Linked DNA regions of Homo sapiens: regions 1, 2, 4, 5, 6 and 7 are each linked to region 3. Evidence: promoter capture Hi-C in 16 types of primary human blood cells and fetal thymus (Javierre and others, 2016). All regions are on one chromosome and are shown on one strand. Each heading gives the region's core, a stretch centred on a gene start or on the middle of the fragment in contact. The rest is flanking DNA. Distances are from core to core; before and after follow the strand shown.

Evidence for each region. Contacts are between HindIII fragments. The CHiCAGO score rates a contact against its expected background, and 5 or more counts as called.
Region 1: a contact is called between a fragment that was not itself captured here and the fragment with the promoter of OMA1 in region 3, in 11 of 17 cell types (fetal thymus, total B cells, naive CD8 T cells and 8 more). The highest score is 24.4, in fetal thymus.
Region 2: a fragment that was not itself captured here is called in contact with the fragment with the promoter of OMA1 in region 3 in 7 of 17 cell types (M0 macrophages, total CD4 T cells, total B cells and 4 more); the score reaches 8.2 in M0 macrophages.
Region 4: a fragment that was not itself captured here is called in contact with the fragment with the promoter of OMA1 in region 3 in 4 of 17 cell types (neutrophils, activated CD4 T cells, monocytes and 1 more); the score reaches 6.8 in neutrophils.
Region 5: a fragment that was not itself captured here is called in contact with the fragment with the promoter of OMA1 in region 3 in 5 of 17 cell types (total B cells, neutrophils, naive B cells and 2 more); the score reaches 9.1 in total B cells.
Region 6: a fragment that was not itself captured here is called in contact with the fragment with the promoter of OMA1 in region 3 in 7 of 17 cell types (total B cells, total CD8 T cells, non-activated CD4 T cells and 4 more); the score reaches 9.5 in total B cells.
Region 7: a fragment that was not itself captured here is called in contact with the fragment with the promoter of OMA1 in region 3 in 12 of 17 cell types (fetal thymus, total B cells, naive CD8 T cells and 9 more); the score reaches 13.7 in fetal thymus.

The regions. Positions count from the first base shown.
Region 1 is chr1:59,696,808-59,700,633 of GRCh38, reverse strand. The region is part of intron 14 of FGGY (FGGY carbohydrate kinase domain containing); the gene reads right to left. Among named protein-coding and RNA genes, the nearest start is that of MIR4711, 35 kb to the left of the region's middle. The HindIII fragment of the contact is 1,211 bases long and covers 1,537-2,747 here.
Region 2 is chr1:59,776,946-59,780,635 of GRCh38, reverse strand. The region is part of intron 4 of LOC105378758 (a long non-coding RNA gene); the gene reads left to right. All of the region lies in intron 2 of LOC101926944 (a long non-coding RNA gene), which reads right to left. Among named protein-coding and RNA genes, the nearest start is that of HOOK1, 36 kb to the left of the region's middle. The HindIII fragment of the contact is 3,133 bases long and covers 294-3,426 here.
Region 3 is chr1:58,544,092-58,547,998 of GRCh38, reverse strand. It overlaps OMA1 (OMA1 zinc metallopeptidase), which reads left to right and starts at 1,273. Exons shown (of 9, transcript NM_145243.5): 1 at 1,273-1,296. It also overlaps a transcript of DAB1 not described here. RefSeq lists enhancers at 835-1,024, 1,238-1,864 and silencers at 1,425-1,524, 1,535-1,624. The HindIII fragment of the contact is 5,811 bases long and covers 1-2,100 here.
Region 4 is chr1:59,715,355-59,719,272 of GRCh38, reverse strand. The region is part of intron 14 of FGGY (FGGY carbohydrate kinase domain containing); the gene reads right to left. Among named protein-coding and RNA genes, the nearest start is that of MIR4711, 16 kb to the left of the region's middle. The HindIII fragment of the contact is 3,444 bases long and covers 623-3,918 here.
Region 5 is chr1:59,680,535-59,684,373 of GRCh38, reverse strand. All of the region lies in intron 14 of FGGY (FGGY carbohydrate kinase domain containing), which reads right to left. Among named protein-coding and RNA genes, the nearest start is that of MIR4711, 51 kb to the left of the region's middle. The HindIII fragment of the contact is 6,732 bases long and covers 1-3,839 here.
Region 6 is chr1:59,737,553-59,741,335 of GRCh38, reverse strand. All of the region lies in intron 14 of FGGY (FGGY carbohydrate kinase domain containing), which reads right to left. Among named protein-coding and RNA genes, the nearest start is that of MIR4711, 6.1 kb to the right of the region's middle. The HindIII fragment of the contact is 1,337 bases long and covers 1,564-2,900 here.
Region 7 is chr1:59,760,766-59,764,540 of GRCh38, reverse strand. FGGY (FGGY carbohydrate kinase domain containing) reads right to left here. Exons shown (of 16, transcript NM_018291.5): 16 at 1,811-2,038. The coding sequence ends at 1,957. Among named protein-coding and RNA genes, the nearest start is that of MIR4711, 29 kb to the right of the region's middle. RefSeq lists an enhancer at 1,739-1,788. The HindIII fragment of the contact is 632 bases long and covers 1,930-2,561 here.

The DNA.
Region 1 (3,826 bases), core at 893-3,392, 1.2 Mb before region 3:
AAGCAGACAGGTATCAGACAGTAAAGGAGACGTGCACACTCCAAAGGGAGGGCAGGCTAATGGGGCTAAGAAAAGTGACACTGACTCCCAAGCAGTTCAAGGAAAAACTAATAACATAAACTCTTATTGCACACGACCTGTGATAAGCTCATGCACTACTTTGTTGAAGTTTCCTTGTTGGAACACAGAAGCATTCTGTGAATGTGGGTAAAAATTGGGATAATAACAGTTCCTGTCCCATGGTGACTGAGTTAATTCATGCAAAGTGGTTAGAACAGTGCTTGGCATATAAAAAACATCAATAAACTTTGCCTATCATCATTGTCACCATCATTATTTACAGAGAGATATGACAGATAGATAATACTCATCTATAAGAATTATATGCATTGCTGTGCACTGTATTTGCTTTTTCTTTTTGAAATGATTCTTAGAATTCCTACAGTGTACAAAGTTAAACATGTGCCACCTATTTTGAACTTAATGTAGTACAAAAACAGTTTTATAAGACTTGTTTGTCAGTTTTTATATAATCGAAGAATTTTAATGTGTTTGTAACAGACACATTTATGATTGCTTTGATCAAGAATTTAAAAGCTTCAAGCCATATAAACATGGAGAAAATGTAAGGGCTCTGAGAAGCTAGAAGAAATAATGATATCAGTGGAGAGAACAAATAGGCTAAAAGTCTCAATGACAACTTTATAAGGGTGAATATGGATATAGAATATTGAACAAGGCAAATAGAAGAATTAGAGATGTGAGAAGCGAGACATTCGCACAGAACAAGTCAAAGCACCACATACAGTCATCACTTCTCTGCAATCAACGCGGGACATGCCTGTTACAAAGGCAAGAACAGCAGGCAAACTGTTGCAAATAAGAACGAGAATTAAACATGTTAATAAATATGATGTTGTTTTATCAATAACTTTAAAAATCTGCTAGAATACTGTATGTTACTCCAAGTTCAGCTAGTTCTTTATTTTTATAAAAACCTCTTTTTATTTACCTCCTTTTTTTGTTTGCATATTGGAAGCCTGGTAAATAGAACTGGAAACCTACCTCGCCCAGGGTACCATTTGCCTTCTTTCTCCATCAGCCCCAATGACCCACAAATACTTTTTCTATCCATGGCAAAAGAGCAGAGGGGTTGTTTTTGAGATTTTAGCAGCCCATGCAATGTTCTCTACAGCCCCTAGGTGTCACTATTGCAAAACTAACAGAAGCCTGAACCGTCAAAAAGAAAAAGTACATTTAATATGAAACACTTTCAATAACTATGCAAAAGGCAGACATCATTTAATACAGAAGCTACAAACAATTTAGTATCTCTAATTGAATTTTTAATTTCCTTTTAAACTCAAAGGCTCACCCCAAGAAGAAGAAAAATATCATTTTTTAGCCAGAAAAAAAATCTCAGAACTGTTCTTTCTCCTAACATTTACACTGAGGGACTCAGCTGAAGCTCACGATACTAAAAGTTTGTGGTATAATTTGTTTTATAATCAAGATTGGTTTGATAGTACAAAAGCTTTCAGAGTAAAAATGTAAGACAGTAAATGAGAGCTGGCTGGAAGGAAAAATGTAGCTATGTTAGTTTGATATTCAACCAAAAGCTATAATCTTATTAAACATATTTAAACATGGTTTTCATTTAGATTTGGCAGCTTGATTAATGGGGATGTATTAAATAATACCTGGCTGCTAGGAGCATATTTAGGAATCAGTGCCACATAAAACATACGACATGTACAATTCAGTTTCATTATTATTTAAGGTTCTCTGTTCTCTTGGCTGTGGGCACACACATATTAAAAATTAAGTACACGCACTCAATGTATGCGCTGCGCTTTTAAAGGGCTTTCTCTTTAAGCAGAAAGATGAAATGGAAAACGAACTCAACTCTGGTGAAAGGTAATGGATTCATCCCTTTGGGGACAGCTGTCCTGTTTATCAAAAGAAAGGGGAGAGGTGGGTCAGAAGCAAGAAAAAAAAATTCCCAAGTGGTCAGCAAAGAGAGACGCCCAACTTCAGAGGGGAGCTGAAATCAGTTTCTACACCCAGGCTTCCTTCTTTGTCACAGTTGAGAGGTCGAATGAATGGTATGTTTAACCATGAGGCCATGGGGGAATTGAGATGCTGATTCCCAGAGCATTATAGAAACACTTTGGTAATGGGGGTGTGGGGGTTGGAGGGGAGTGTGAAGAAGCATCTGTAGTTTTTCTGGGCATAATGCTAGGTACTGACCAAGGGGTGGGAACTGCGGGGTGGGCATGGTTCTGACTAGCTGGGAAGATAGAAAAGTATGAAGTAAAGGACCAAGTATCATAATAGAGTTCTACTCAGTGTTTTTGATGAGAAAAAAATGATACATATGACATGCAGAACCTTATCAATAAATTATCTTTCTCCCCTTTCAAATGACATGAGGTTCCCTAATAATCTTTGGGCTGGAACAAGACATCTCAGAGAGGCCAAAATGTCATATATCACATTACATTTCTAAACAACCCAATGGGACAGGGAAAAGTACTATTAATATTTTAACTTTGGAAACTATGTTTAAATCCAGAAAAAATACAGAAAGCATCTCATCAATCAGAAGGAAAAAAAAGACATGCTTTTTTGATAAAAGTATTATTATCTCTATGTACAGATTACAGAACTGAGGCTCAGAGAGTTCAATCACGTTACCCAAGATCACATATTTAGTAAGTTTCAGAGGTAGGACTGGAACCCAAGCTTGTCTTATTTGAAAACCCACTTTTAAAATCTTCAACTCTCATTGCTTCTCTGATTGACTGAAGCCTTGGGCAGAAGAAACAAAGAAAATAGGGGGTGATGTGGAGGGGCACAGCATGCAATTCTGTTTACCTCTTGTGTCACCTACTTGCAAAAGACTGGAAGAAGAGAGTCTGATTTCTTCTCAAATACTGCTTCCCATTGCTGCTATCGTCCACAACTGAGCTATCTATTTCCCCCACTGGAAAGAAGTCACAAAAATGTTAAGCACGCCAAAGTCTTCACAGCGACGATGGTTATAATCAGCAGATCACAGAGAACAAGCTATGTTGCATTAAGAATACAACCAAGAAGGAAGGAAATTCTGATACGTGCTACAGCATGGATAAACCTTGAGAACATTATGCTAAATGCAATTAGCCAGTCAACAAAAGACAAATGCTGTATGATTCCACTTATATGAGGTATCTAAAGAGTAGTTAAATTCACAGAGACAGAAAGTAGAATGGTGGTTGCTAGGGGTTGGGGGAGGGGGCAATGCAGAGTTATTGTTTAACGGGTAAAGTTTCAGTTTTGCAAGATGAAAAGAGTTCCGGAGATGGATGGTGGTGATGGTTGCACAATAATGTGAATGAACTTAATACCACCAAACCGTACACTTAAAAATGGTTAAGATGATAAATTTTATGTTATGTGTATTACAAACAAACAAAAGAATACAACCAGGACCACCTCCTCCAATGGTGATTTACAATTATGTACAATGTTCTCTTGCCTGGCACAATATGAAGCATGACCTTCAACATTTTCAAATTTTTTGAAGTAAAGGTATTTTTGTGGTATTTCCTCGCCACTTTTCTGGAAAGCAGTACATCTGGAGGTAAAGGGTTTTTTTTTTTCATGTAATTTTACATTTGCGTGTTTCATATGGATGCTTGTCCTGGTTTGATCAGCAACGAGCTCTCTGGCCATGCACAAAGCACTTCCCGTTTCTGGGTCTCAACTTCCTCATCTGTAAAAAGAGGGTTTGTGTGGGATGATCTCTAAGGGCCCTTCCAGTTCTCAGTTCAGATTCCTATTT
Region 2 (3,690 bases), core at 611-3,110, 1.2 Mb before region 3:
ATGAGCTCCTTGGCAGCTGAGGAATAGAGGGAAACACTGTTCTTAATATTTAGTAGATTCTGGAGTTCTGGGAGGCATCAGATATAGTTCCTAGAAAAGACTGAGTGAATGAACAAATAATGTAAATGACAGCAAATTTTATAATAAAAGTATACAAGTATTTTTCATATAAGTCATTTTATAGTTGTGGCCTGGTGAAATCTAAAGACCAGAAAGATAAGACTCTGGTGTGGACCAGAGTGAGGTGGCCAACTGTAAAGCTTCCTGCAGATGGGTGCCTGCAGGGAAAAGCTTATGGGTAGTGGGGTGGGGATTGAGGAGCTGAGGAAATTGAGGAGGTTTCTACTTTACATGATTCTACAACTCTATGTGAAGTAGAATGCAACTCCCTCCTCTTTTAAAAACCCTTCAGTGGCATTCCATTACACTATGACAACATCTGAACTCCTTATCATGGCCTTCAAGGTCTTATGTGATCCAGCCTTGGCCCCCTTGTGGTCACGTATCCCCTGGATCATTCCACTCTCACCACGATGGACTTCATCCAACTCTTCAAACATTTTGAGCACCTGCTATTTAGTGTTCTTTTAAATGATGGTTTTTCTACCTGTACTGCTGTCTCTCTGCCCTTTCACTTGGCTAATTCCTAGTCATTCAATAGATTTCACCTTAAGTATTTAACTGCAGAGAAGACCATCTTGACTTCTACCTAACCCCATTTGTATTAAATCATATCTATAACCCTTTTATAAAGAATCTGGTATTTTCCTTCATAGCATTTATAACAACCCATTTGTGCTTTCATTTATTCAAAGTCTTTTTATGTATATATACATGGGTTAGTATATATACATACATGTATTTTCTATCTTTTTCCACTGAGAGAAACTAGAAGCACTTCCGGCACCCAGATCTTGGTTTCTGATACCATTCTCCAATAAAAGGAACCAGTGTTCTTTGGAGAAATCACTGATTCTAGGGCAGGGGTGGGAAAATCCAAGATAAGCCTGGAGCATTTTGTAGTGACAGAATGCAAGGAAGGGCTCAACAAAATGGGGACATGTGAAAAGGGCACAGTAGTCAACCTGAAAAAGCTCCCATTGGCCAAAGCTAGGCAGTGGGAGCTCTAACTTGTTGCCCCAGTTAGGGAAACAAAATAAATGACAGTATTGGAATATAACCTAAAAAATAAAATGAATATTCATGAATGTTTACTGAGTGATAAATGATTGAATAAATAAATAAATGGAGGAGAAAGGATAAATATTTCCTGCCAAATTCCAAATGATAAACGTAGTTGCTGCCTCCTCCACGATGTAGAGCTTAACTCTGCTTCCCTTGTGAGGGCTGGATTTAGTACTCACTTCTAACTAACAGAATATGAAAAGGGAAAAATAGAAACTTAACAGCAGAGAAATCTGCCATGTATCACCTTAACTAAATTAATAAGGTTAACATCATCAATGATAGCTCATGTTTATAGCTTGTATCCTTGATGTGATGTGGTGAGAAGGGCACTTTGCCAATATGTCATTTGTCCAAAATATTCAGAACTCTAGTCTACTTATATGAACACATCAGACAAACCCAAATGCGGGGACTTTCTCCAAAATGCCTAACCAATCCTTTTTTTTTTTTTTTTTAGATGGTATTTCGCTCTTGTCACCCAGGCTGGAGTGCAATGGTGTGATCTCGGCTCACTGCAACCTCCGCCTCCTGGGTTCAAGTAATTCTCCTCCTCAGCCTCCCTAGTAGCTGGGATTACAGGTGCCCGCCACCATGCCCAGCTAATTTTTGTATTTTTAGTAGAGACAGGGTTTCAACATGTTGGCCAGGCTGGTCTCAAACTCCTGACCTCAGGTGATCCACCCACCTCAGCCTCCCAAAGTGCTGATATTACAGGCGTAAGCCACCAGGCCTGGCCCTAATCAATAATTTACAAAGGTGTCAAGGTCACAAAAAACAAAGAAAGTCTGAGAAACTAAAGAGATATGATGATTCAATGAAACATGGTGCCCTGGATTGGATCCTGGAAAAGGAAAACATTAATCAAAAAATTGGCGAAATTTGGTTAGAGTTTGTAATTTAGTTAGTAGCATCGTACCAATGAAAGTTTCTTAGTATTGATAAATACTGTATGGTTGTGTGAGTTGTTAACATTAGGGGAAGCAATGTGAAGGGTATATGGAACTCTCTATTGTTTGCAAGTCTTCTGTAAAACTAAAATTATTACAAAATGAAAATTTAAAAATGTCTTCTTCTACTAAACTTTATCTGTTGCTCACTACTGTATATTCATTTTTGGAACAGTGATGTATGGTGGGTAAAACTGTGGTTTCTCGAGGCTGGATGCATGTTTGATTTCTGGCCCTGCTATTTATGAACTATGGGAGTGGCAAGTTTCTTAAGGACTTCTTGTCTCAGTTTCCTCATCTATAGAAGGGGCATAAGGTGGTTGCGAGAATTGGAGGGCTTAATATATATAAAACACATACAACAATGCAAGGTTAGTTATTACGGGTATAATTTCCATTTAATATGTCATTGTTGAATGAGTGAATAAATGATTCAGGGCTTTTTGCTAAGTGTGAATCAGGATTGAATTCAAGTCAGAGAGAATATTTGAAGAAGAGGCAGGACATAGAGTAGTTTGTTTACAGTGGAATGGAGGCTCTGTAAGGCATAGCTGGTGGGTTGGCACAAGGATGGCAGAAGGATAAGGAAAAACTGTGGGGCATGTAAGCCAGGAGTGATACTGTTATGGAAGTGTGTATGAGGGCTTTGTGTTTGGAGCAGTGGTGAAGGTTGACAAACAAGGGCAATTGGTCTCTCCTGGGCATATTGCCTTCAAATTGGTTCTTCACTTTCTCCTGCTCTGCTCTGTATTTCAGGGGACTGACCCTTGAATTCTGCATATTTGGCCAGTGGGAGGCACTGGTGGAACACTAGAGGGAGGGAAGAGGGGAGAAGTTGGAATGTTTCTCCCCTCCCTCTCTGTCTTGGGCAGCAACTCCCCAGCAGCGCCATCTCCAGAACAGTCCTGCCAGGATGCCAGCTTCGCCCAGGGGCCCGTAACACTGCCTCTTCCTCTGTCCCTCTGGCCTAGGGTCTTAGTGGTTCCCTTCAGTTATGATTCTCTGGGTTGCCTCACTACCCCATGCTTGGCTCTCAGTTCCTCCACTTCTGTGTAATTAATTCCCAGTTTTTAAATCCCTGTTATGAATACTCAGCTGGCAGCTATTTCCTGCTTTGACTCTGACAGAAACAAAAGGCACGATGGAATTCCCTGTCTTCCAGCCTGACTTAAACTCAGGGGAAAAGATTTTTCAGTGCTACCATAGATAGAAACGCTGGCTACTTTCCTAATTGCTGGTTATAGGGTCCGTGTGCTGTGACCTGGCCTGGGCTTCAGATCATTGCAAAGCTTAGAAGGAGGAGGTGCTGATGAGAGCCCATTTAGGCGTATATCATGCACCACTGCCTTATGGAGAGTCCTGGACAGAACTGGACCTGATGGAAGGGAAAGATCTGATGGGAGGAGAAGGTCCTGGAATCTCAGTGATGCAACAGCCAGACCCAGTGTCACATCCATTGGGGGTTATGTGGGTTGAAGAGCTCCTTCTGCCTAAGTGTGCCAAGTATTGGAGTCAGGGGTATCCACATTACTCCAGCCCCTTTAAGTACACCTGG
Region 3 (3,907 bases), core at 24-2,523:
TGATGGTGGAGATTAATGTCATAATTAAAGACCTGAAATATACAAGAGTGGTTGGTCATCCCTGCCATATCTCTACTTAACTTGCCAGTCTGGCCCCTTTGGAAATCAGGTGGACCCAGGATAATGACATAATGGCTCTGCGCAGTCCAAAAGGAGCTGGATCAACTGGAAATTCCAGAGAACATCACACCCATCTATTTCACCAATGACATTATGCTAACCAGGCAAGATGAGCAAGAGGTGGCTAGCATGCTGGAAACTTTGGTAAGACATGTGCACTCCAGAGTTTGGGAGATAAACCCTACGAAGACTGAAGGACCTCCTACTTCAGTTTTTAGGGGTCCAGTTGTCAGGGGTTTTCCAGGATATCCCTTTCAAAGTAAAAGGCAAATCATAAAATACACATAAGATAAACGAAACAGTAACTTACACATTTTCCAAAAGAGATACCTAAAATTGTTCATAGTGTTTATGTCCTTTGACATAGTGTTTATGTCCTTTGAGATGTTTTCATTGTGCACAGAGTGTAAACATAATAAACTAATATGAGACCTCACTACTCATCCATCACAATCCAGTGTTTATTTGTACTGGCTTATTTGTACACTTTTATTTATTTGTGTTTATTTGTACACTTTTTTTTAATCGCCTGTCTTTCCTCACTGTGATATAAAGTTCACGAAATTCAGGTCTGTCTTGTTCACTGCTACATCCTTGGCACTTAAAATGTAGTTGATGCTCAAGAAATATGTTTTGGTGAAATGAATGAAACATACTATACACATAATTTTGGAGCCAGCTACTTTAACCTCCAGACACTTAAGATTATACTTCATCTTTCTTAAAATGCGTCCCTCCAAAAATCATATGAAAGCACTGTTCCCATACTCCAAAGACTATTTCTATGAATGCAGATTCAGAACCAGGAAGCCTTCGTCTTTTGGCAGTCTTCGAGTCTCTTCCCTTTTGGCCGGTACTGCCGTAGAGACTACAACGGACACAGCCTTGCGTGGATCATTCTTTAGAGGACCCAACTCACCAAAGACGGGAGAAAGTTGTTCCTAGGCAAGCAGCCCAGCCCAGGGCCATGTCCCGCCTTAAGCCACACGGAGGCGCTAGAGCGCCACAGTCTCCGCGGGGCCCGGGGCAGCTGGGAGAACGACTCTGGGCGGCTGTATTGACTGCCGGGTGTGGGCGGAGCGAAGGGCGCCCCGGCCGGTATGGCGGGCAGGAAGTGCGGGTGCGCGCCTGCGCATAGGTCGGGTCTGCGGTGTCACCGCTTTCGCTTCTGCTTGAGTCAGTCCTCACGGTGACGCTTTTCCCCAGCTTTTCCGAGTAGGATCGTGCCCAGGGGAGGAGGCAGAGTGCGGCAGTGGGGAGGGGGCGGAGCGCAGAGCGCCTGCGGGGGCGCCCGGGCAAGGAGTGGGGATCCTTGGGGATGGGGGTACGGGAGGAGGCGTGGGTGGGCGATAAGGCTGCGTGGAGGGGAGGGGCGGGGGGCGCCGGGGCGGGAGACGGAGGGGATCTGTCCTGGGGGAGCCCGGTTCTCCCCTAGCCTTGCCCGGGGCACGCCGGTGACCCCGTGTGTCTGCCCCGTGGCAGTACTTTCGTGGGCCGCCTGCCCTCCCCCTCAGCCCGCCCTTATCCGCGGCTCCGCTTTCAGAGCAGGGTTTCTCACCCGCGGGGCTTCGGGCTCCTCACCCGGCACCTCTGCCAGAGGGGACCGCCTCCCGGCGCGTCGGGCATTCGTCTCTTTCACCCCTTCCCTCTTCAGGAGAAACTGAACACGTTTTCCAGCCTAAACTCGGCAGGGCAAACCAGAACATTCCCCGTCTAAGCAGTTCCGGGGAGTTTTAACAATTTCCTCGTAAACTCGTCTACAGAACTCACTGTATACTGTTTAAATGTCGCCTGTGTGTGGAGCAACAGTTTTATTGTGCCGTGCAATCCTCAACAAGAAATTGTAGTCCAGGGAGATGAAAATCCCTTATTTGGCATTCAGGCGTTGATCAAGGTCGTGCAACCCTCGCTAAAAGGATTTAGGTTCATCTCCGTCATTCTCAGCCGGGGTGAAGGGGTGTAGTCTGACATTTGGAAGCTTAAGAACCAAGTCTGCTGCCGTCCAATTCTTTTTTAAAGCCTTCCATCATGTGTGTACTTTGCTTGAATGATTATTTTAAAGTACATGTCCTATTTTTGCCAATCTGACAGCTGTTTCCATAGAAACTAGAGAAGAAATAGTCATTTTCAGCAAGAGTTGTTAAAACTGTCTTCCAGGCTTCAGCTGTGAGTGCCAGTGAGTGCTGCACTTGCTCATTCGGAGATGGTACTTAAAGAATTAAGGATCTGAAATGTTCGTAGAGGCTAACAATCCAAATTGTTTAATTTTCTCACATCATTAATTTTGTTATCCTAGAAGTCTGCCAGCTATGTTTGTTGACCTGCCACAGCTCTTTGAAGAGAATATGTCAGCCCTGATTTTTTTTTTTCTTATGTGCTCTGTAGTCTAGTGATTGGCTCCTTGAAAATGCATGAATAGATTTCTTCCCTCATTCTTTACCCTTTCTTCAGGATAAACCGGGTATTACAAAATATCAGGCACTGTTTCTATTCAAAACGACACTTGGTTGTCAGTGATAGAAATGATAATGGTTTTAATTATATATGCGTAGTGTTGGGGCTTTTGCTTATACCTTCTGTGTCAATAGGATTCTTTTAAAATTTTTACACAAGTCATGAGAAATGAGAAGGAGTTTGCTTGTCATGTGCAGAGCTAAGCAGTGTGAATAGATGTGCATAGACATAGAGATGAGAGCTTTCTTTTTCTGTGGGGTGTAAGTAAATCAGGGAGTTTGGAATTTAGGAATGGGTGAAGGAGGGTTGGGGAAGGTGCCTGGAGAAGTAGTAGGAGGGCCTGGTTCGCCATATGAAGGAGTTTGTGGAAGCCATGGAAAACCAACGAAAGTCCAGGCGTGGTGGCTCATGACTGTAATCCCAACACTTCGCAGTGCAGTATGATCAGTTGAGCCCAGGAGTTAAAAACCAGCCTGGGCAACATAGTGACACACCGTGTCTACAGAAAAAAATTAAAAAATTAGCTGGGCTGGCCAGGTGCGGTGGCTCAGGCCTATAATCCCAACACTTTGGGAGACCGAGGTGAGCAGATCACTTGAGGCCAGGAGTTCGAGACTAGCCTGGGCAATTTGCCGAAACCCCGTCTCTACTAAAAATACAAAAATTAGCCAGATGTGGTAATGCATGCTTGTAATCCCAGCTACTGAGGAGACTGAGGCACGAGAATTGCTTGAACCCAAGAGGCGAGGTTGCAGTGAGCCGAGGTGGCACCACTGCACTCCAGCCTGGACAACGACAAAGTGAGACCCTGTCTCGAAAAGAAAAGAAAAACAATGGGAATTACAGAAATAGTTGCCTGAGTGGAGGTTTAAAAAAGTAATAATACATCCCGTAGAAATTTGAACTGCACAGAAATATATAAGGTGAAAATACTAATAATCCCTCTTAACCACCATCCTGCCATTCAAAATAATTGTGAATAGTTTGGTGTATCTTTTTTCAGATTTATTTTTGTATATACTAGCATATTTTCTCATTACTATTTTTGCAAATTGGGGAGGGTTTTTTAAAATCTGTTTTGTTCTCTGCAGTATCTCTAGCATCCATTATGGTGCCTAGCATTTAGTGGGCACTCATTAAACATTTTCAGAATGAATGAATAATAATACAGTTCAGAGGTCAAAAATACAAAATCTGAATGTTTGGTTAAGGTCGTTAAAATTTTTTAAGTTCATTGCCAACATTTAAAAATTGATAAATTTCACCTAAAATCTGAAATTCTGGCTTTACTTAAAAGTTTTGAATCATTTGGCCACAGCAAGTTCAAATTCCA
Region 4 (3,918 bases), core at 1,095-3,594, 1.2 Mb before region 3:
ACTTAAAAAAAAAAGTTCTGTTGACTTCTTTGTTAAGAAAGACTCAATTAGGGTGAAGAGGTCTTCCTGCTTCTTCCCAGAATAGCCTCATCTTGTTGGATTGGCAGCTCCTAGGCTAGGAACAGGTGGGACCAGTAAAGCTGCCAGGGACAGGCCCTTGAGAAGGTGGCTGAACACACTGTCCAGTCCCTTTCAAAGTCTAGTGGGGATGGCTCTCACACAGGCTGGCAGGGTGGATCCTGGGTGTTGAGCTGGGGTGTGACCTTGAACAAAAGAGGTATAAGTACCCCAGGGGCAAAAGTCAATTGTTCTGAGAAGGAAGCTGGTGAAGTGGTCCTGGGTGCCAGTTATAGGGGGGTCAGGAAGCTAAAGCTAAGGGCACTGGGAGTGGCCATGAGCCAGGAGGCCAGGGGCTGAGAGTCTGGGGGAAAGTAGTGAAAGCCTCAGACAGGCTGCAAGCAATACCACGCTTGGCAAGGGGCCTTTGTAGTGCAAGGTCTCTGACCCCATGGTATACAGCGGGGAGTGTCAATGTGTAGGTGAAGGGGTGGTATGGGACAAATTCAACCTCAGAATGCTCCTCTGGGTAAACTCACTTTGGAAGAGGGACAAGTGACAAGCTTACAAAGAACCATCATCATATCACCATCCCAGGAGTTGGCAGAGGGCAAGTCGCTAATGCATGGGTGTGCCTGCTATGCCACTGGTGGTAGTGGAGAGCCTCACATGCTTCTATCTGGAACAAGTTGTGTTTAACAAACATTTGTAGAGAGCCACCCTCTGCCCCATGCCAGGCTCTGTAGGAACTGCAAGAAACAGAGGTTAGGAACTGGTTGGTGGCTCTCCTGGAGGGAGTCACCGTCTAGAAGGCAAGCCCTTTATTACTACCAACCACGAGCTTGGCTGATCTACCTCCTTAGTTTTCCTACTGAATCAGAGAAGCCTTATATCTATCATAATAATGTGTTAATAAACAGGAGGAGGTTTATGGTTGTAAAATGCTTTCACACCAACAGGAGGCAGTGTGATCTGATAGAAAGAATGTCTGGATCAGAATTAGGAAGACCTAGTTCAAATGCCAGCGTAACAGTTTGTTTAGTTGTTTGATCTTTAGTCAAATCCCTTATGGTCTTGGACCCACAGTCTCATCATCTGTAAAACTGGGCTCGTAACACCTATCCTGTTTTCTCCTGAGAGGTAATGTGACAGTAAGTAAGAGCATGGACTCAGGGGCCAAACTGCATGGGTTCAAAGTGTAGTTTCTCTACATACCAGCTGTGTGACCATAGGTGTGTTACTTAACCTTTTCTGTGCCTCAGTCTCCCCAGCTATACAAAGAAGATGATAATACCCCCAATCTAATAGGGTTTCTCTGAAGACTAAATAAGTTAATATATGTTAAGCGATTAGAAGAGAAATTAGAAAGTGCTGGCACACAGAAATACTTAAGTGCTATTGATGGGAAGACACAATATATTGCATAACTCAATCAGCATATAATTCTTGCCTTTTCCGTCCTTCTTCACATAGTGCCAGTAGCCGTGAGACTAGGACTTGAGCCTAAATCTCCATACTTCAAGTCTTATGTCCCTCAACTATGACTAAGTGGTAAGACTTAAGCAGTGCTGGTCATGGCCTTCTCAATCTACATGTGTGCCTTCTCTTCTTGGCATAAGTTCTTCAGCCATCCCAAACCCAAGCTCTGGGTGTTCATCCCAGGATTGCCTCTCCATCGAATATCACACTTCTGGGTTCACACGATTTCCTCCTTCCTGTCTTTCCCATCCGGCCTTTGTTGAAAGAACTGATCCTTTTCATTATGGTATCCTATGCTCTAAACCATGCCATAGCTGCCCATTGCCTGTGGTGGGCAGTATCAGAGTGGTCCAGGTAGTGTAAGGTCTTTAATTCATGGCACTTTCCATCTGAGTCCATGGGGAATTGTTTATAGGTAACAGTATTAGAACAAGCAGAACCTATGATTATATTAAATGGGTTTATAGGGTATATAGATTACCCTATAAAATCTCAACGACAAGCACATGTATCCAAGGAAGAACGTAACAACACAAAAGCTCTGCACTGTTGAACTAAGTAAGCAGAATATTTCTAATTTTCCCATCAACCTTTGATTGCTATAATCTAAGCCTCAATTTTCATATCTGTAAAACAGGATGATACCTACATCACAGAATGGACAAGGAGGGTTAAGGGCGAGCATATGTGAAATGTGTGTGGTCAGCAATCCTGCAACTAAGTGTTATGATGATCACTATTGTTATTCTGAAACCCAGGTACCTCTCTCTGGCCTTCAAAATCCTGTAGAATCTGTCACCACATTATTTACTCATTCTGATTTTCTACAGTTCCCAGGGATTTGCTGATTCTGTCCGTCTGAGAGCTCTCACTTCCATTTCTGCAGGAAATCTGTGGTTCCTTTTCCCGCTTCCATCATGCCTGAATCTGAGCCTCTCCTTTTTAAATTCAGTCTGTCATTCAAGGCACAGTTCACATTTGACCAGGAAACTTGAGAGCCCTCCCCTCCCCTGTCCGCTCTCTTGTTCCCAGCTCTCTGAATTCACACTCACTTACTGTCTGTACTAAATAACTTACTTTAAAATGCCTGCTGTTGTCTCAGTATTTTGGTTTTGTCTCCCTAATTAGATTGTAATCCTTTCTCAAGCAGCCACTGAGATTCTTTTTTCTTTGATGCTAGTTTGCCGCATAAAACAAATGTTCCAAAAGTTCCTAGCAACGTTTCCTCTGAGGGTCCCCAAATGGAGTGCAAAGATTCCTGGGAGCTCAGAGATCAAGATGTAGTTTCTTCATCTTTTAAATGAAAATAATGATACCAACCTCATAGAGTTGTTGGATAGACTGAGATCATGGGCATAGAATTGGCCAGAAATATGCTTAACTGAATTATCTTGCAGAAGAAAAGCAAAAGGTAACTGGAATTGATAGGAAACTGGGAAAGGAGGTAAAAAGAAAGGGAATACCATGCTAATAAAACAGATGTATTAAGTATCTCCTGTGTGCTAGGTACTATGCTAGGCATTTCATATATATTATATATAAGATACTGGTGACTAACACAAGTTCTGGAGTCAGGCTGTTTGATTCAAATCCTAGTCCTACCTGTTACCAGCTTTGTGGCCCCAGCTAACCTACTTAAAATAGGTTTTAATACCTTTGGCTTATTTCCTTCATCTTTAAGTTGAGATAATTTAAAGCAGAGGCAAACTTTTTTCTATGAAGGGCCAGATAGTAAGTATTTTAGGTTTTATGGGCCATTTGGTCGCTGTCACAATTATTTAACTCTGCAGTTGTAGCACAGTAGCAGCCATAGGGTCTATGTGAATGAATGGATGTGATTGTGTCTCAATATAACTTTATTTTCAAAAACAGTCAGTAGGCAAAATTTGGCCTGTGGGGAGTAGTTTGCCAATCTCCAATATAGAATCTATTTCCTTAGGTCTGTATGAGGATTAAAAAGTTAACATAGACTGTGCTCTTAGCACAGTGCTCTGCACATAGTAATTACTCAACAAATGTTGGCTGTTGTGTATATAATGGACCCATGGAATAGGTGTTAGTATGTCCCTTTACCGGGAAGCAAACTAAAGCTCAGAAGTAACTGAACAGTTTCTCCAAGATCTGACATCTCATAGTGGCAGAGTCAGACTTAGAGCACAGGCTTGACTGACTCTAAAACCAGTAGTTTTCTCAGCCATTTTTAGCCAACTTAAAGTTTGTATTAGAACCAAGACCAAATTTCATTGACCCAAGGGGAACCAAGTGTTTCGGGACTTGACTTAGACACTGGCAACCTATCAATTGATTAAATTGGGCTGCGGATCCCAATGAATGTTGCTGGAAAGCACACAACTTTTTGCCTTTGAATCCTGATTCCAGTCA
Region 5 (3,839 bases), core at 1,042-3,541, 1.1 Mb before region 3:
CTCCTCAAATGCTCCATCATTCCATTGCAGAGTAATTGCAATGGAATCTTTCACAGGTGAGGCCTCTGAGACACAGAGAAACTAAGTAACTCACCCAAGGTAAGTGGCTGAGCCAAGATTTGAGTCCAAGGAAATAGTCTTTGCCATTACACCTTAGACTTTTTCATAACTGTATCCATCTGTGCCCAACCTCCCGCCACCAGTAGACTGGGAATTCCTTGGGTACCGACATTGTGTCTAATTCTTCCTTGCCCTGCTACTGTCTAAGGCTGTTCCCGTCACATGCAGGCTTGTGCTGATGAGCCTTGGCTTAAAAAATGAAATGGCCATCGAGGCCCCTACACATGACTTTTCCAGATCTAGTCCACTGTCATCTGTCAGCCCAACTATCACAGCCCACCCAATCTCCAGCAGCAGAGGAGAGCAGAAAATGCATCCTGGTATCACAGGAAGGACCTGAGTAAAAGGTGCATTAATGGGGGCAAAAACAAGCCAGCAGAGTGATTAATTTGGCTTCCCCTTCAATATTCTGTTTATACAAGTTCATTATATAGCACTTAATTACTAATTTGCCCTACTTAAACCAAGAGTGCTTTTAATTTTTAATGAGATAAGGGAAGAAGATGCCTTTACTTAGTAAGGAGCAGCTATTTTATTTCCTTCTCTTGTTTTGCCCAGCCAATTAATAACATTTCTAAGGAAATGCATCCCTCTCATGAATTCTTTCTCCCTATCTTCTTCCTGACCTCCCAGGTTTAAAAAGAGATGGCAACAGACAACAGCCACTTAGAAACAAACTGAATTCATCTCTGACCTGGCTGGCTGGGCTGGACAAGGCCTTGTAACGTGGAGTAACATCGTATTCACAAACAGTGCCATCTGATTTGGGGGGAGCTGGGTTTTATCTATTCCCAGGAATCATGCATAGCATATGTATACAGAACATAGTCATAGGTCTCCATATAAGGCAATCCCCCAACAACCCTGCTTTATTTCTTGGTGTTAATGTCAGATAATTTTAAGCACAGTCCTGGGATAGCCTACAAACAGTGAGGGGCATGGACTTTGGAGTAAGATCTGAATTTGAGTGCTGGCTCTCTCACTTGCTAGACCACAGGCACATTACTTAAACTTTCTGGCCCTGTTTCTTGTCTGTAAAGATGAAGTGAATAATCTAACTTGCAAGAATTAAATGTCATCTAAAGTACCTTAGCACAGTGCCAGGCTCAGGGTAGGTACAGAAAAATACTCGTTATTCTTCTCTTTAGCAGAAGTTAAGGTAGGAAAATCAAAACAAGGAAAGGGATTCCAGCGTTTTTATCATTACCTACAGAGCAAGGAATCTAGTTTAGTGCTATTCAAAGGGCCCATCTGTGGTGAAAGGAGTTGGCCCCAGGATGTAAGCCAGCACACCGGTTCCTTCATTGAGAACATCTTGCTATGAATAAAATGACAGCTGAACTAAACAGTACACTTGGTGACATAATTGATTTACATTCTGATGCAAGTTCCTTGTTTCATAGCAAATCTGAACAAACCATTTAGAGACTGCCCTCTAGTCTGCAGACCGCTCTGAATAGTCCAGGGTGGGTGACTCAGTTGAATGTCTCCAAGTGCTTCTGAAGATTCCTTCCCACCCTCCTCTGAGCTTAGAGATGTGGCCTTCTACAGAATACATCAACAGGTTCCCTTGCTCTCTGATTCTGATTCCAGCCAATGGTGAGGCAGGCAGGAGATTAGAGAGAGGGAGAATAGGGTTAACAGTGCAGCCCTTTTCTTCCAGGGTCACTGTGCAGTCTCCACACAGCCCTCTGTTCTGGGCATCCAGTAACTGCACTTTTCCCTCGCCTCTACAGGCCCAGCTGTTACAAACCCGAGGGTCACATTCTCCCTGTGATTTCTCTATGTCTCTATGACTGCAATTTTGTAAACAGTCCCTCTTTTAAACCCTCTCAAATTACTCAAATTTGAGGGTGCCCTCTGTTTACCTGTGAGGACACTAACATTTACCAAAGGGATATTTTGATATACATTTAAATTCTTGTCATCTATTTCTGATACTAGTTTTTAAAGTAATGGTAATCACTTAGCCCCATAAGAATCCATTTCCACTTGTGGCTGAGCTGAACAGTCTTTGGTTTGGGAATCCCAGGCTAGTACTTGGATTCTGCCTCTCTCACTTTCTAGCCATTGGCTTTGGTAACTCACTTACTCTCTCTAACCCTGTTTCCTCATTTGTAAAATTATTATAATATTATAGAAAATGTCTTTATATACAATTTTTCATATGGTGTAACTTTTTAAAATGTTCAAATTTCTTTGAAATGCATACAATTAAATACATGCTACTCAAGATTCTGATCCCACGCTAGTTTTTTATGGTTCACTGCAGAGGATCAAATACCTCTGTTAGGAAACTATAATTATGATTTCTTTTGTTTTCTTCTGCATATTCTTGATCATCTGCCTAAATGCTGCAACTGAAACTCTTTTAAGACACTGTACCTTCCACACTCTGAATCGAACCTCAAACTTTTTCTAGTAGTATGTATGTGTGTGTGTGTGTGCATGTGTGTGTGTGTGTGTGTGTATTTTTCAAGGCAATTTTCCCCATCACAGAATATTACTGATTTAACTAAAAGCCTTGTCTTTCCTGATCTCTCATTTGAATATTATACAGCATGGATTTCATTGCTATTCATGAGTTATTTTAGTGTAAAGAAAAAAAACCTATTTCTAGTTTATTCCAACAAGAATGTTTACAATAAAAAGTAAAGGCATAAATAGTAATTAGAGTGAGGAATTAATTACTTACAGGCACGTCTTTCTATGAGATAAATCTTACACATTTTTGTTTAGGTTTACACCAGTATGAAATGCCATCTTGAACAAAATCAAGTCAAACAGGTAAACCTTATTATAGAAAGAGAGTTCTGTAATCCTTCAAAGTTTCTAAGAACTTAGTAGATGTTTAGCCCTTGGTTGCTTTTATAAAAGCCCAATTCTTACATTCCTGAATAAAAATTGTGGGGGGAGGTGAGAGAGATATTTGGGAAAATGCGTTTTGTTAGCCTAAACCTTTGTGTTAATAACAATAGCATTTAAGTATCTTTTAATTCAAGTTATTTTAATCTATTAAAGTATTCCTTAATCTATTGTACTTCATTATTGAAGTATCTTTTAATTCATGTTCTTAATTAAAGTGCTTTTTATATCTACCTAAAGTGCTTCTTTTATCTACCTTTTTATAGCTACAAAAAGTAAACAGGCATATATTATGATTAAAAGCAAACAAGTAGAGCAAAATAATACTGGTGAGTATGGTCATTCTCTGGGGAAATGAATTAGAATATTTCCATGCCAAAGAGGGCACCCTGCTTATTTTTATTTCTGTGTTGGACACTCAACCAAGCAATGATGACAAATACATAATGCTATTTTTTATAAACGATACCACCTTGTGAGAGGTGTCTCAGTTGCCATAGTGTACTTCCCTAGCAATGTATATGTATCTACAGGATATGGTCTGATGGAATACAAAGAGCGTGGGCTTTGTATTAAACAAGTTATACAACATTTCTGAGCTTCAGAGTCCTCATCTGCACAAAGATTGCTGCTACCAACCACTGGGTTGCTTCAAGGGGTCTATGAAATGACAATGGATGGAAAGTAACAGGTCCTGTTCTTGGATCACTCTGTAAGGAACAAGAGAGTCAAATGATGTGTATCTTATATTGAAATAATTTCCTTAAAAAATTACAATTTTCAGCTAATGTTTTGACTTTTATACCCATGGTATCATTCTGCAAACTGGATTGAAACCAGAGGTTTTATAATTA
Region 6 (3,783 bases), core at 983-3,482, 1.2 Mb before region 3:
ACTCACTATGTGGTACCAATGGGGGGATGGTGCTAAACCATTCATGAGCTCCACCCCCAAAATCCAATCACCTCCCACCAGGGCCCTCCTCACTGGGGATTACAATTCAACATGAGATTTAGCCAGGGACACAGATCCAAACCTCCCAAAGTGCTGGGATTACAGGTGTGAGCCACTGTGCCCAGCCAGGGATTTTATTTTTAAGATGAAAGGTTTACAGCAGCACTGTCCAACAGAAATAATATGATTTACACAAGTAATTTTAAATTTTCTAGTACCCACTTAAAAAAGTGTAAGTGAACTGGTGAATTTAATTTTAATATGTTTTTATTTAACCTATTATACCCCAAATATCATTTCAAGTAATCAATACAAAAATTATTTATGAGATATTTTACATTCTTTTATTCATGCAAAATGTTTGAAATCTGGTGTGTATCTTACATATTGCAATTTGGACTAGCCACATCTCGCGGGTTCAATAAATACGTTTAACTAATGGCTACTGTTGGATAGCACAGGTCTAGAGCATGTTTAAATGTTGATGAGAAGGAGATAGTATTGAAGAAGCTAAACATAGAGTGAATGGATAATGAATTAAGTGGGCTGTTAGAGGCAGTAGGAGATGAAAGAGTCTCTGATAATAAGTGGGCCATCTCTTTCATCGTAACAAATGTGAAGGAGAAAAAGACTGTATCTGGATATAAGCAGTGGTGTGTTGATAAATAATACTGATAAATAATCAATAGAAAGCCCTAATTTTATCAATTGCCAATTTCTGTGTTGTAAATACTTCCATCTTGGCCAGTTTCAAGCTCTGAATGTGATGGAATGGATGTGAAGCTGGGAAGAGATGTGCACAATATGCTCTTGCGAGCAGGGCTGAGCTAGCCCCAGCTCACTACCGGATCTAAGAAAGCTGGGAGATTTAATGGCAGTTGTCTTTCTAATGGCTTTTCTCTTAGAGGTAGTTGGTGGCTAAGAATAAACAGGAGGTCATCTCTCTGAACATGAGAGGAAAGACAGGGATGGAAATTGGCAAAGTTTGATAATAGTCATTGTAGAAAATGGGAAATTGAGCTGAAGTGATATATTTATTCAGGTTCCTATTAGGAAAGAGATTGACACTCACATTGGGTAACTGAAGTAAGCTTCAAGAAGAGTTGTTTAAAAAGGTTTAGGTAAAGAAACAAGTACCTAATGATTACCAACAGTAAGGAGCCATTACAACCTCTTAGCCTGAAGGAGGACAGGGAGGGAGGAGAGGTTCCCATCATGCACAAAATTGTAGGGAAAGGGCCACACACAGGAACTGTGGTCCATTGTAGAAGGATGGTAGATGGATGTAGCTAACCTGCGTCAACCCAGCAAGGAGAGCGCTGGGGGAATAAACAACTTCATTATTCTCCAGGTTCCTGCTGGGGCTGCCCATTGGCCAAACCCAACCAGAAACCAGGGCTAAGAGACTGGTAACAATTAGTATAGAGTGGTAGAAGCCTGCCTTATGGTTGTATGGCTTTGATTTATAGTGTCCACAAAGCTGAATTCATCCTGGATTAAGCTTTGCTAAAGAACAATGGGGAAAAAATAAAACAGCCACGTGGAGATTGACCATGTAGAAAAAGAGAAGATGGGTAAGAGGAAAGTGAAAAAAAAATTCTGAAAACAGCCCTTCCACGTACATTTTAGAGAGAAAGAAACTAAAACTCAAAGCATAATGTGGCCTGCCCAAGAGAGCAAGTTTAGTTAGTGGTAGGGTTATCAGACAGGTCTGTTTAGCTGGAAAGCATTTTCCACCTTACCTTCCCACCTGCAAGCAATGAATGGTTTGGTTGAAACCATTCTCCCCATACCCCTGCACCCCTCACTACCCAGTTTCTGCGCTTGGGAGAGTAAAACTCAAAAGAACAAAACTTATTTGAATGAACGTTTTTACATATGGCCAGATAGGTGAGGTGAGGCTGTGTTTGGTAGCCTGGGCAGGAAATGTTTGCTAGTTTATTTGCAGAAGCCAAACTTATCTCTACCAAGCAATTAAAAAATAATCTGTCAGGTTAGAGGCAAGGACAGAACAAGATACAGCTTTTAGTTGAAGCTGAAACATTATTGGAATTTTCTACCCCCAATATATAAACTCATGCATACTGAAAAGCAAATATTCACAAGGACTGCCTTCATTACTGGTGCTCATGGCAAATGTACAAGCTAAGAGGTGGATGAGGCATGTGCAAGGGTGTCTTTTGTGAAATAAAGGTGAAGTTAAGTTTTCAGGAATGCTCTGTTCCCCACTCCATGTCTGTTCTGGTCTCCCTTCAAGGCAGTACCTGACCAGGTGACCTTCTTACTTAGGTCCAGTGGTTTGGGCAGGAAAGGCAGAGAGAATGTGCCTGGATTCCCCTGTATCTGGTACTGAAATCAGAGCTACGAAGCTGGGAATGGACAAAGAAGCACTGGCCACAGCTAGGATGGCATTCCTGTGGTGTGACCTTGGGGCCTAATCTCTCTCAACCCATTTATGGAATTTCCTCATTTATAAAATTTGGCCAATACCTAATGGGTAATTGTGAGGATTATATAAGGCCAAGAATACAAAGCTCTGGACAGATGTGAGTGCCCAGCAAAAGTGGATTCTTGCCACATTCCTGTTGCTCTCTGGTCCTAGTACTTTGATTTAACCATTTATTTCATTTCCCAGAATAACCAGTTTCTTCTGACATGGGATTCCATTCACAGAAGATAGCAGCGGTTTTCCTACAACTTCCCAATCATGATTATTCTAGTTTTGTTTTGTTTTATTTGGTCACTTTTGGGCCCTGGTGACTCCAGGTGGCCATTCTGGGGAAACCACAGCATTTTGGATCATGGTTTTTTTCCCCATCTTTGAGTAAACACCAAAAGCTTTCTTTACCTTTTATTCCAATTCTTGTTTGCCATCTGGTGCCTGGTTTGGCTGCATCTGTGTTTACTTAATGACTTTAGGCAAAGGCCGAGTTTACATACGGGAAGAATGAGAGGGCTTTGCTGATTCCTTCCATATGTTCATTTATTCATATATTATGATTTTTGTAATCTCACCAGCATAGATCTCTTCAGACAATCCTTACCCTGTTCCCTGGAGAGCTGCTTCTTTGTGTTTGCAGCTGGGAGTTTCTGTGAGAACGTTTTCTTCAATGCCTATTACCTTTAGCACAGCTCAGTGAGGCTTTTAGATGGGCACAAAATTAATATTCTTGAAGGTTCTTCTTTTTGAATAGGGGAGCTTATTTGACTTGGTTGATTCTGAGGACTCAGGAGACCTGGGCTCTAGACTCTTCTTTTACTTTGTAAATGGTATGAATTCAGACAAGTTTTATAACCACTCTGGTCCTCAGTTTGCTCTCGCCCCCATGATTCAATTACTTCCCACTGGGTCCCTCCCACGACATGGAGGAATTCAAGGTGAGATGTGGGTGGGAACACAGTCAAACCATATCATTCTGCCCCTGGCCCCTCCCAAATCACATGTCCTCACATTTCAAAACTAATCATGCCTTCCCAAAAGTCCCTCAAAGTCTTAACTCGTTTTGGCATTAACTCAAAAGTCCACAGTCCAGCGTCACCTCTGAGACAAAGGTAAGTCCCTTCTGCCTATGAGCCTGCAAAATCGAAAGCAAGTTAGTTACTTCCCAGATACAATGGGGGTACAGGCATTGGGTAAATACAGCCATTCCAAATGGGAGAAATTGGCCAAAACAAAGGGGCTACAGGCCCCATGCTAGTCCAAAATCCAGTGAGGCAGTCAAA
Region 7 (3,775 bases), core at 996-3,495, 1.2 Mb before region 3:
ATGGCGTGAACCTGGAAGGTGGAGCTTGCAGTGAGCAGAGATCAAGCCACTGCACTCCAACCTGGGCGAGAGCAAGACTTCGTCTCAAAAAAACAAAAACAAAAACAAAAACAAAAAAACCAACAACAACAACAACAAAAAAAACATATTCATATTCAATACCTATTCATTTCAAAATGAGGAAACTGAGACTTAGGAAGATTAAGGACCTTTCTCCAAGTCACCCATCTAGTAAGAGGTAAGACCAGGCCTAGGATCCCAGGCCAGGGCTCATAGCTGTTACACCATATTGTTTTTCATCCCACCTTCTCCTTCCTCCTTTTCTGACTGATGGGCTCCATGCAGCAGGTACTTTTTTTTTTGTAATTGTAGCATTTCTCATAATGTACTGTCATCAATCTATTTGTCTATGTCTCTCATTAAACAGGGAGGTTCCTGAAGGCAGGGGCCATGTCTTATTTATTCCTGTAGACCAGTGCTTACCACAACATGTGGCACAAAGTACTCCAGAGGATGTTTATTTACTGAATTATATTGGCTTTTTCTTCTCTACCTGCTGTCTTTTGCTGAAGTCTTAGCATGTCCTCTACCCACACTCATTTGAGCTATGACAGCTCTCAAATCAACGTTAGCAGTTACTCTTGGGTCTGAAATTATGTGTGGGTGTTGACATATTTATGTATGTATATGTATGTGTATGTCTGTGTGCGTTTGTGTGTCTGCTGTGGTATCAACTAAAACAGCTAGTTTTCCCAGTGCTTGTCTACATCAAAAGCTTTTAGCCATCAGGTTTCTTCAGTTTCCTTTAATCTGGAAACTTCCCACAGCCTTTCTTTGTCAGTATGACATAGATATTTTTGAAAAATATAGTCCATTAAAAAATAAAATGCTTCCCATGTTGCGTTTGTCTGATGTTTCCTTCTGATTAGATTCAGGCTCTGCATTAAAATGCTCTTTCTTTTCTCATATCTGGAGGCACACAATGTCCATTTGCCCATCTGAAGTTGATTTGGATCACCTAATCAAGATGTTGTCCTATTTCTTCCCTGTATACTTAACGTTCTTTTTCCTCTTGTAACTAATAAGCAAATTCTGAAGAGATATTTTAAGATTATGCATATATCCTGTTATTCTTCAAAATTCCCTCCTGGATCCATCGATGATTCCTGCCTATACCTGTCTTTAATATGATGATTGTGAAATTACAATTCTGCAAATAAATGTGGTATCTGACCCTAGACTAGATCCTGCACAGGAGGGGAAAATGCCATAAAAGACATCGACTATGCATTAGATGTCCTACCTAAAGTAATGTAAGTTTTTCATTTAATAGCTGACATTTAATTGATTAAAAAGTACAGGCCTGGCCGGGCGCAGTGGCTCATGCCTGTAATCTCAGCACTTTGGGAGGCCGAGGCGGAAAGATCACGAGGTCAGGAGATCGAGACCATCCTGGCTAACATGGTGAAACCCTGTCTCTACTAAAAATACAAAAAATTAGCCAGGCGCGGTGGCGGGCGCCTGTAGTCCCAGCTACTCAGGAGGCTGAGGCAGGAGAATGGTGTGAACCTGGGAGGCGGGGTTTGCAGTGAGCCGAGATCGCTCCACTGAACTCCAGCCTGGGCGATAGAGCGAGACTCCGTCTCAAAAAAAAAAAAAAAAAAGTACAGGCCTTCCCTGGATTGAATAGCCCCCAAGGTCTAGTCTCATGTGAGATCCTATGACCCTATGTGAAACTTCTGTTACTATAATGGAGACTGTATGGAAACTGAAACTAAATAATAGCGGTATTTTGAAATGAAGACTCTAATTCTGGTTGCACATGTTTGTTTTCTTTATTGAAAGACAATACAGAAATGATGAAACAATACCTCAAGGGTCTTGAACATGGATCAAATGACAAGTCTTTAATGCAATGGCACAGAAGCTTCTGGCATCAGCACCTGCAAGCCCTGTTCAGTCATCATTCATGATCGCCAAATACTCCTTCTGGTGTTCAACCAGCTTCAGGAATACTTGGTATTTCTTATCATAGTATCTGTGGGAGAAATATAAATATGTTGAATGATCTCAAGACAAAACTGCCACAGGGCTTCCCTGTACATTTAGAAGAATGGAAATATATGTGTGGTGGTGATGCTGACACCTAGATTCTGAATGCTTACAGCATCCTGGGCAATGAATTAGCATGTTTCAGACCTATTATATGTGACCTGGATGAAGTTTTATTATCTCCAATTTAGAAATAAGAACATTTAAACCCCATCTCTTAAAAATACAAAAATTAGCCAGACATGGTGGTGGACGCCTGTAATCCCAGCTACTCAGGAGGCTGAGGCAGGAGAATTGCTTGAACCCGGGGGGCGGAGGTTGCAGTGAACCGTCCCCCGTTCACTGTGAAGTGGTTGAGTTGCACCACTTCGCTCCAGCCTGGGTGAAAGAGCCAGACTCCATCAAAAAAAAAAAAAAAAAAATTCCTAAATGAGAGGCATATACAAAGTAGTATAGATAAAAACTGGCAGAGCTGGAATTCAAACTCATGTCTGTCTGACTTCAAAGCTTCTACTGTATATACAAAAAGGCCGGACTTAATGGAGACTCTTTCACATTGCCAGCTTCAATAAGTATTTCCTATATAACTAGCCCCAGGTTTGATGACTGGCCTAAAATCACAGCCTGACCAAGGACAAAGACTGAACATTTTAATTGCCCTTTTGCAGATTCCACATCTAGGTTTCCCTTGTGACCTGCTTTATCCAGGAGCAAAACCCCATGGAAATGTAGCTAATGCCTTTTCTAGAGCTGTGCTCGCCTTCCAGACATCTCACAGTGGCCGTTGCTCTCCCTGTCCTATCTGGCTGACTCTTTGGGTTAGACCTGTTAGAACTGGTATTGGCCATGAATCAGACAGCAGAACAGCTGAAGCTGCTCTGGCATCATAATCCTGAAAGGAATAATAGGAACCGAGACAAATTATACTTGCAGCCTTGCAACTTTGTCCTTACTCCTCTTGGTTGGGAAGCTGACATGGGGTGAGGGGGTGAAGAAGCCAGTTTAGCATGTCTTGCTCAATTCTGGGGTGCTCTGAAAAGGAGTCCTCATGATGAAATTTTGGTGCAAAGTTGTGCATTGGCAGAGAGAGGTTGTAAGAGTAACCTTGGATACACACAGGGACTTCTACTTGTCACACATAGCTATGTTAGTAGGAGTCCCCTACCCAATATTTATTAGACTGTAAGCATTCTGGTAACGTAGGAGTTGTGACGGGGCCAAGCACAGGGTTAAAAGGCGAACTCCAAAGCCTGGGTTGGAATCTTAATGTGGCCTAACATTAGCTGTGTGACTTTGGATATGTTACTTAAACTATTTCTGCCTAAATTTCTCCATCTGTAAATGGGGATAATTATGGGATCTACTTCAGCAGAGCTGTTGTAGATTAAATGTGGAAATAAATGAAAAGCATTTAGAACAGTACCTGACTCATAATAAGTGATATAAATGCTAGTTACTAAATTTTAGATAATTAATATTTTAATATCATCAATATAGCTATATGTAGGTACTACTAAGACCTACTCTATGAGCATCCAAATTTATTAGTTGTAGAATTATTTTAGGAACAATTTGCTCCTACTAATGATGCTCTGTGACAATATAACGGTAAGGAATTCTTTCACTACATGAGATAGATTTCTTGACTTTAGAATCTCAAAATATCTAGAAGGGAGCTAAGGTGAGCACCCCTTCACACACACTTGATTTACAATGTTAATAC